Linked DNA regions of Homo sapiens: all the other regions are linked to region 3. Evidence: promoter capture Hi-C in human tissues and cell types (Jung and others, 2019). All regions are on one chromosome and are shown on one strand. Each heading gives the region's core, a stretch centred on a gene start or on the middle of the fragment in contact. The rest is flanking DNA. Distances are from core to core; before and after follow the strand shown. Region 1 holds the start of SERPINF2 (serpin family F member 2). Region 2 overlaps PITPNA (phosphatidylinositol transfer protein alpha). Region 3 holds the start of OVCA2 (OVCA2 serine hydrolase domain containing).

What was found. The method cuts DNA at HindIII sites, captures the fragments that hold promoters and counts their contacts. A contact is called where the count stands out against the background at its distance.
Region 1: the fragment with the promoter of SERPINF2 here is called in contact with the fragment with the promoter of OVCA2 in region 3 in 1 of the 25 tissues and cell types used here (dorsolateral prefrontal cortex).
Region 2: a contact is called between a fragment that was not itself captured here and the fragment with the promoter of OVCA2 in region 3, in 6 of the 25 tissues and cell types used here (aorta, dorsolateral prefrontal cortex, hippocampus and 3 more).

Annotation. Positions count from the first base shown.
Region 1 is chr17:1,741,359-1,744,193 of GRCh38, reverse strand. SERPINF2 (serpin family F member 2) reads right to left here and starts at 1,323. Exons shown (of 10, transcript NM_000934.4): 1 at 1,286-1,323. The HindIII fragment of the contact is 23,738 bases long and covers 1-2,835 here.
Region 2 is chr17:1,554,692-1,557,472 of GRCh38, reverse strand. All of the region lies in intron 2 of PITPNA (phosphatidylinositol transfer protein alpha), which reads left to right. Among named protein-coding and RNA genes, the nearest start is that of PITPNA, 6.7 kb to the left of the region's middle. RefSeq lists a silencer at 971-1,171 and an enhancer at 1,588-1,657. The HindIII fragment of the contact is 8,751 bases long and covers 1-2,781 here.
Region 3 is chr17:2,040,772-2,043,579 of GRCh38, reverse strand. OVCA2 (OVCA2 serine hydrolase domain containing) reads right to left here and starts at 1,558. Exons shown (of 2, transcript NM_080822.3): 1 at 1,349-1,558; 2 at 155-975. The coding sequence starts at 1,532. The coding sequence ends at 476. It overlaps DPH1 (diphthamide biosynthesis 1), which reads right to left. Exons shown (of 13, transcript NM_001383.6): 10 at 2,399-2,477; 11 at 1,959-2,099; 12 at 1,705-1,812; 13 at 1-975. The coding sequence ends at 1,723. RefSeq lists silencers at 1,256-1,455, 1,966-2,055 and an enhancer at 1,646-1,705. The HindIII fragment of the contact is 24,727 bases long and covers 1-2,808 here.

The DNA of each region.
Region 1 (2,835 bases), core at 74-2,573, 300 kb after region 3:
CCAGGCACGGTGGCTCAAGCCTGTAATCCCAGCACTTTGGGAGGCCAGGGGCAGGTGGATCACCTGAGGTCGGGAGTTCAAGACCAGCCTGGCCAACATGGTAAAACCCCATCTCTACTGAAAATACAAAATTAGCCAGGCGTGGTGGTGGGCCCCTGTAATCCCAGCTACTCGGGAGGCTGAGGCAGAGAACTGCTTGAACCCGGGAGGCGGAGGTTGCAGTGAGCCGAGATCACGCCACTGCACTCCAGCCTGGGCGACAGAGCAAGACTCTGTCTCAAAAAAATAAATAAGACCATCTTTGTAAACCCTGAGTACAATGCTTGGCACTCCCCCGATGGCTGGGGTCAGCTTGGCTCAAGGCCACCTCTTCTGGGAAGCCTGCCCTGAAGCCTCCACCGCAGAGCTCCAACACAGAGCTCCTACCCAGCCTGCTGCATCCATTTAGCCTGTCTTTTTTTTTTTTTTTTTTTTTTTTGAGATGGAGTTTCATTCTTATCATGCAGGCTGGAGTGCAATGGCACGATCTCGGCTCACTGCAACCTCCACCTCCTGGGTTAAAGCGATTCTCCTGCCTCAGCCTCCCGAGTAGCTGGGATTACAGGCATGTGCCACCATGCCTGGCTAATTTTGTATTTTTAGTAGAGACAGGGTTTCTCCATGTTGGTCAGGCTGGTCTCGAACTCCTGACCTCAGGTGATCCACCTGCCTCAGCCTCCCAAAGTGCTGGGATGACAGGCATGAGCCACCACGCCTGGCCCCAACCCGTCTTTCTCAGGCTGGTCAGGTCTTGCCCACAAGGCTGGACATACCTGTGAGGCCCTGAGGTCTCACCATGGGTGGCAAGGCAGCCAGAGAGCTGCCTTTTGACCCAGCAGCAGAGCCCAGTGAATGACTCTGGCCAGAGCCACCTCTGCACTTAGGAGCATCACAGGCCTCTGCTCCAGGCTGGCTCTGGGAAGGGCAGGTGTTGGTCTCAGGAGGATAAGTCAGAGCAGGTCTCAGCTACCTCCAGCCCACCCCCATCTTGGGGCCAACCCTTCTGGAGGATCCTTTGGTCCCCCCGGCCCCACCCCCATCCCACACAAGAGCCCTTGGCCAGGGCCCCGACTCCGACCTGGGCATTAGAATCTTCTTGCCAAGAACAGGCTCCAGTTTTTCAAGTCCCAGAAGAGGCTGGGGAGTGACAGGCCTCCTGAATAAATCCCAGACCCCTCAGCCAGGGAGGCAGCTCCCTCCTCCTCTCCTACCCAAGGAGCAGGCCGAGCAGCCCCTCCCCTCATACCTCTGCGGGCTCCTTGCTGCCACACACAACGTTCCTCTGGCCCCACTTGGGTGCTCCTCACTCTCTGCCCAGGCTCCAGCTGGCCCAGCCCACCCCTCCCCTCCCACCAGGACCTTTACTCTCAGCCAACCCCTGTTCAGATTGCTTTCTCTTCTGGTAAATATTGACTTGCACATCCAGTTAAACATTGATCTTGAAGCCAGAAGCCCCTTTCCCACCAGGGCATCTAACCCTGAGGCAGCCACGCAGAACCCCCTATATTTGGGTCCCCCCCCCCGAGCCTGGAAAGAGAAAGTTCAGGAGGAGAGAGTTGAAGAGACTGGATCTGGCTAGCCAAGAGGGCGGATCCAGAAAGCACAGGAACCTAGCACTGTGTTAAGCCTTCCAGAGACCCCACGAGGTGTGGATTATCCCTGGTTCAGCCAGGCTCAGAGAGGCCATGTGACCTGCCCAAGGACACAGAGCTGGGCTGAGGCACATCCAGATTCTCACTCCCAATGTCCTTTCTTCTCCCAGAGAGCTGCCTCCCGCTCCTGAGGGGAGGAAAGGGGAAGCCACAAGAGCCTATGCAGAGAGCCCAGGATAGGAAGCCCACCCCCAACCTTCCAAGCCCAGGATCAGGTTGGCTGCCTTCAGACTGGGATGGAAGGCAGGGGGTGAGGGAGGAGAAATGAGAGGGACTCAACTTCTCCCACCGTCCTGCCACTCCAGAGCAATGTCTCTTTCCCCTACCCAAGAGCGAGGGTTCTGGAAACTGACCTGGGGCTGTATGAACCAGAAGCCTGGCAGCCCGTGCAAAGATCAGGCTGCTTCCCACCCTCACTGTCCGGCTCCTCACTCCCTGCATCAGGCTCCTTCCCACCCTCACTGTCCTGCTCCTCACTCCCTGTATCAGGCCCCTTCCCACCCTCACTGTCCTGCTCCTCACTCCCTGCATCAGGCCGCTTCCCGCCCTCACACCTGCTCCTCACTCCCTGCATCAGGCTCCTTCCCACCCTCACTGTCCGGCTCCTCACTCCCTGCATCAGGCTCCTTCCCACCCTCACTGTCCGGCTCCTCACTCCCTGCATCAGGCTCCTTCCCACCCTCACTGTCCTGCGCCTCACTCCCTGCATCGGGCCACTTCCCACCCTCACTGTCCTGCTCCTCACTCCCTGCATCAGGCCGCCTCCCACCCTCACTGTCCGGCTCCTCACTCCCTGCATCAGGCCGCCTCCCACCCTCACTGTCCTGCTCCTCACTCCCTGCATCAGGCTCCTTCCCACCCTCACTGTCCTGCGCCTCACTCCCTGCATCAGGCCACTTCCCACCCTCACTGTCCTGCTCCTCACTCCCTGCATCAGGCTCCTTCCCATCCTCACTGTCCAGCTCCTCACTCCCTGCATCAGGCTCCTTCCCACCCTCACTGTCCGGCTCCTCACTCCCTGCATCAGGCTCCTTCCCACCTTCACTGTCCTGCTCCTCACTCCCTGCATCAGGCTCCTTCCCACCCTCACTGTCCTGCGCCTCACTCCCTGCATCAGGCTCCTTCCCACCCTCACTGTCTTGCG
Region 2 (2,781 bases), core at 6-2,505, 490 kb after region 3:
TGAGGTTCGTCAGCCAGTATAGTGCCTCCAGTCACTGGGCTCCGTCTCTCTTTCCTGCAGTGTCAGCATGAAGCTCCTGTGATAACTTCCACTCTGTTCCCAATATGAACTGCACCTTTGAAAAATGAAATCAGGCCAGCAGAGCCTGCAGCACATTTAGTTGAGACAGACATCCAGGCTTGTTGGCCCCCGAGAGGGGTGGGCAGACACTGGCCCTTTAGAGGACTGCCTCCAGGGGTGGGCTACATATCTGATAAGAGCTGTGGGGACCTGGGGAGGGGGCCAGAGGTGGGCCTTGACCGTGATCTTGGGGTTCTGGGAAGGGCAGAAAAGAGAAACGAGACTGGGGAACCTGGGAACCAGGGAGAATGAGGGAATGGCTGGGTAGATGGCTCTAATCCCTGTAGGCACTGGGGATGTACCTGGGGCCTGAGAACCAGGTGCCTGGGCTGACAGGTGTTGGCTTGGAAGGGTCTTGTTAACCCACCTGCTTTGGCCATGCTGTCTTTATTTTTTTTATTTTATAATATTTATTTTAAATAGTGGAGATAGGGTCTCACTCTGTTGTCCACGCTGGTCTTGCCTCAAGTAGTCCTCCTGCCTCAGCCTCCCAGAGTGCTGGGATTACAGATGTCAACCACTTCACCCAGCCTGTGCTGTCTTTATTGAAAATAGCAAGCGATGATTTTCCAAACCAGAAGGCCAAGCAGGAAAGCCCAGCGCGTCCCTTGCCCTCAAACTCAGCTCTTGGGGAGGTGTCCAGTGACGTCCTCTCTGCTGTACAGGATGATCCCACCCCGATCGTTAGGAAGATGTGCCCCAGGAACTCGGGATTTCCTTAGTGTGGTGATTAGGGGTGAAATGGATCCTTTGATAGGGAGTTTCTTGATGGAACGAAGGGCGAGAGTGTCTCTGAGAAGTGCTGCAGACCAAGGAGGGCCAGCCTGTCCTGGAGCACCTGGGGCTGTTCTTGGAGTAAGGCTGAAGGGCCAGACACTGATGGCTTATGGTGGGGCCAAGACTGGAAGGAAAGGGGAACTTCCACCTTGAGAGCATCCACAGTTGGCGGGTGTTCACTTGTGATGGTTTTTCTGCAGCATTGAGGAAGTGGTGGGGCGGAGTTGAGTAATCAGAGCCTGAAGTCTAAGCAGAAGCTTGGGAAGTGAGTGCTGATCAGGATTCACCTGTCTGCCTGGCAGTGGTCAGCCCGTTCTCAGCAAGAAACCATTGACAAGAAAGTACCACGTGGCCTGGGTAGGGTCGAAGCGGAACTTAGTTTCAGAGAATTAGAAAAATCTTGGAGGGGAAGGCCGAAGAAGAAACAATTCATGATCAACCTTCTCAGAGTCTTTGTCAGTAACCCCATCCCCATCCTGACTTAACAGTTTCTATGGGAACAGCTCAGCATCTTGTGACTGGTGGATTCACTTCCTAAATTGGAGGCCATGACTTGAGGCCTTTGCAGTTTTCTGATTTAGGGGAAAGTGAAGAAAGGGAAAGAGAAGGTCATGCCTTTGTAATCATTCCGATGGCCTGCATCAATATTTTGGGGGCAGAATTAGCTTCTGGGTGGCCAGAGCCTTTGGTCTAACCCTGAGTGTCTGGGCGTTGTGCAGCAGAGCGAGAAAGCCCTGGCTGTTTGACGGGGTGTGTCCACCAGTGCTTCCTGGCACAGGTCGGCCGGGCTGCTTCACTTCTTGTTTCCAGAGATTCACGGCACCAGTCCCCCTCTGGTACCCAGCCTGACAGGGCCATGTTGGTGGGACCAAAGCTGTACTGTTGTTTATGACGTGTTTCATGTCAGTATTTCAGGCCCACCCACTGGGCTCCCCCTCCCAGATTGCCAAAGTTGTGGAGTCTGTTTTTCTTAGTTGAATGTCTTAGTTCTCTGGGATAGGTGAACAGATCTCAAGAGCAAGGAACATCATCGCAGGTCTGAGGAGGCTAGATTCCCAGTCCTGTTGGAGTTTTTTAAATCTGATTTAATGATCTGACCCTCCCACTCCTATCTCTGCCCCATCCGAGTCTGGCTGCTTTCCCAGGGGGCAGAGCAGCTGTGCCAAAAGGAACTCTAACGTGAAAAGCGCCCTTCACTTGTAGCTTGTGCAGGCCAGTCTTGCTTACCCCTTTAGATTAACAAAACTGCCTTCACTTGTCTCATTGGGATTAAAGGATCAGAATATCAAGAGAGATTGAAGGGGGAAGATGCCAGCCAACAGGCTGATCCTCTTAGAACCTGCCCTCTGATTCCTGCAGCTGAAGAGAAACCAAATGAAGGCGATTAGTCTCTGCCTGGGGTCCCCCTTCCCAAGTGGTACCACTAGCTGGGAACCTCGCCCCCTCCACCAGGCCCTCTCCCCAGCCTGTCCTTTAGGATTGCTGAGTCAGTGGTTAGATGTTCTTACGGCTCTTCTCTGAAACGGAGTTACTGCTCCTTCTTAGGCACCCCTGGCTCAGCCAAGCCCTGACCCACCTGACGGGTTTTCATGTGTGCCTAGCTGGGTGGTGGACTTGGAGAGGCACAGGGACAGCTTGGGGCTCCAGGGGGGCATTGAGGCAGCACTGATGCAGCTTAGGATTAGCAAGGTCAAGGTGACTGGCTTTCACCCATATGTTCCTCTGTATGGATTTCACTGAGCCTCGATTGCTGCCCCTTTTCATGGCATTTTGTTCTGGGATTTTGCTTTGAAAGTTAGGGCTCTTTCAGCCTTGTGGTGAGCAGTGAATTGTCCTCGTCCTCTGCTTCACTTTCCAGATTTTGCCCAGAAATTTCCCTGCAGT
Region 3 (2,808 bases), core at 309-2,808:
TGAGTATGTGCACCCATGCAGCAGCCTGTCCGAGGACTCACAACTGGAGACACCTCCCTGCTTGGCGCTGCCCAGAAAACTATGTAGATGGCCAAGAAACCGACTTCCATTATAAAATGTTTTTCTGTGTGTACCAGGAAAAAGATGCTCAAAATCCAAATCACCACTTTATTATGTGGCAGTCACCATGGTGCCAGCCTCTGCCTTCCCCATGTCACCCTCCTAATCCAGGGCTCTCCAACCATATTCATGTTTGCGTTTTCACAAGTCAATGTCCATTAAGGCCTTGTGCTCCCCTTTTCTTCAGTACAGGGCAGGGCCCTTATAATTTGGGTCTCAAGAATTGATAGTTGTCTCTTAACTGGTTCTGGTGAGGCGCACTCACAGCAGTGAGTGGAGGGTCCTGGGAGGGCATGGATGACGGAGGCTGCCCCTAGAGGAGCTGGATGTAGGAGCAGAGACATTTCTTGATCTTTCACTCTGCAAACTGGTCCAAGAACTTGAGGTAGGCCTGACGCTGGGGTGCAGCTGCTGGAATGAAGTGGCCACCAGAGTGGGTGAGGGTGATGGCTCCGGGAAATTGGCTGGCCAGTTGCACACTCTCCTGAGAGGGGATGACTTTGTCAGTGTCCCCAAAAACATGGAGCGAAGGCAATGACAAGGGCCTTTGCAGGATGGATTCCTTGAACCCAATGCCCCGGGGACAGAAACCAGACACCAAGAGGATAAACCGTGGCAAGGGGAAGCGGGGATCGCCTGCCTGGCCCAGGGCACACACAAGGGCTGCTAGCGCAGCCCCTTGGCTGAAACCAAGAAGGCCGTCAAAAGGCCCCAGCCTGTTCAGTGCCTGTGCCACCATCCCCAGTGATTCCTCCAGGCCCCTGCAGACGGCGGGCTCTTCCAATGCGGAGAAAACGTCGGCCTCCTGCTCTGAAAACCACCAGCCTCGAGGCTGCTCCTCCGGAGGGCAGGACCCTACAGCGATATGAGGAAAAAGGATGGGATTAGGGCATGGGAGGCTCCAGGAAGGAAAGAAATGAGAAAGGGCAGGAGGGTTCGAGATGACAGAGAGAAAAAGGGAATCGAGGCAAAAGTCTGGGGGAAATGAGAGGGGGGAAATGAGTGGATTGGCCTGAACAGGAGACAGCGGAGGAAGACGGTGAAGGCGGAAGCCTGGGAGGACAGGCTGCAGTTTGAGCAAAGAGGGTATGGGTCGCGAGAAATGAAGGGTGTGGACTGGGTGGGAGGAATGCGGGTGGACGCAGGGTGGGGGATGCTGAAGGGTGTCGAGGGGGACGAAACAAGATGGAGGAAACTGAGTGCGTTTCCGGAGCGGGGCTTGTCTCACCGAAGTCTGATCTGGCGCCCTCGGGGCCCGGGGGGTCGGGGACCGGGTGCGGGCCGCTGAGGCACACGAGCTCGGCGCGACCCCGCAGCGCCTTCCTCAGCGCCCCGGTCTTCTCACGGAAGCCCCGCTCGCTCTGCCGGAAGCCCGCCAGGCACAGGACCCGCAGGGGTCGCTGCGCGGCCATTATGCCCGGCAAGGAGCGACGGAAGCACCGGAAGCGGTCTTTCCCCGAGCGGAAGCACAATGCACGGGGCGGAACCGAACGTCAGCACCGCCCCGAGGGCGGGCCTCGGAGCGCCAAGGCGTTCCCATGACAACGGCAAAAGGCGGGGCGCACCCAGAGCGGGGGCTGATACCTGAGGCCCGGGAGCGCGTCAAGGAGCCAGCGGCGCCACCTTCTCGTCCCTGCAGCTGCAGTCCTCGCAAGCCACGGCCGAAGGGGGACGCGCGGACCCCTCCTGCACCTGAGGTCGCAGACTTTGGTTAGGGTCTCGCTCCTGCGACCCTGCGTTTCCCTCCGCTCCGCTCCTGTGCGTTTCCCGTCGCGGTCGCAGGGCGGCGGCCAGTGCCCAGGCGCGGTCTCTCCTCCCTCCTGGAAGCCCCCGCCTACCTTCCCCCGCGCGGGCCGGCCCGGGGCGTGGGGACGGCGGTCCTGGCCGTGGTTCACCGTCCAGGGCCCCAAGGAGCTGCCAGCGTAGAAGTCCATCGGGTAGGGCTGCTGCCAGGAAATGTCCCTCAGAGCCACGGCCGCCTAGGGGAGGGGAGGGAGGGACAATAACATCTGCCAGTGTTTTTCTGCCCCTGGATTACTGAATTCAGTCCTCACGACGGCCTGTGAAGGGCACACTGTCCCCTGCCACAGAAGGGAACTGTGTGGTTCAGGGCCTTGCCTAAGGCTACACAGCTAGGAAGTGACTCCGCTGGAGAAATCGAGACAGACTCCGGAATCTACGAACATAACGAAGTGCTGCCCACCCACCCCACTCCACTCCAGACCTCACCTTTGAGAACCACGTCCAAAGCCCACTCTCTCCCAGAGCTTGGTGTTACCTCATAGGGTGTCAGCAGCGGCTTGGGGAAGGCTGTGCCCCAGTCAATGGAGAGACGTGGACATGCCACCTGCACCCACCTGGGAAGGGAAGCCAGGTCAGACCCTAGGAAGGGCCTCCTCGTCGCCCAGGCAGCATGCTGAAGAACATGACAGTGCCCCCAGCACACCCATTCATTAACAGGCTTTATGAATCCTAAAGTAAAGACAGTGACCCACTGCTGTTTGGAATACTGTATTGTTGCGTGTTTTCTCCTGTTTCCTCTGCCGACAATGAGCTTTCCAGGGCAGCTCACTGGTGATAGTATCCCCAGAACCACATTTAGTACCTGGTACAGGGCAGGTGTCAGCCACCGCTCAAACTCATCTCACAAGGACAAATGTGATGTTGCCATTGCCTCTGAGCCCCAAA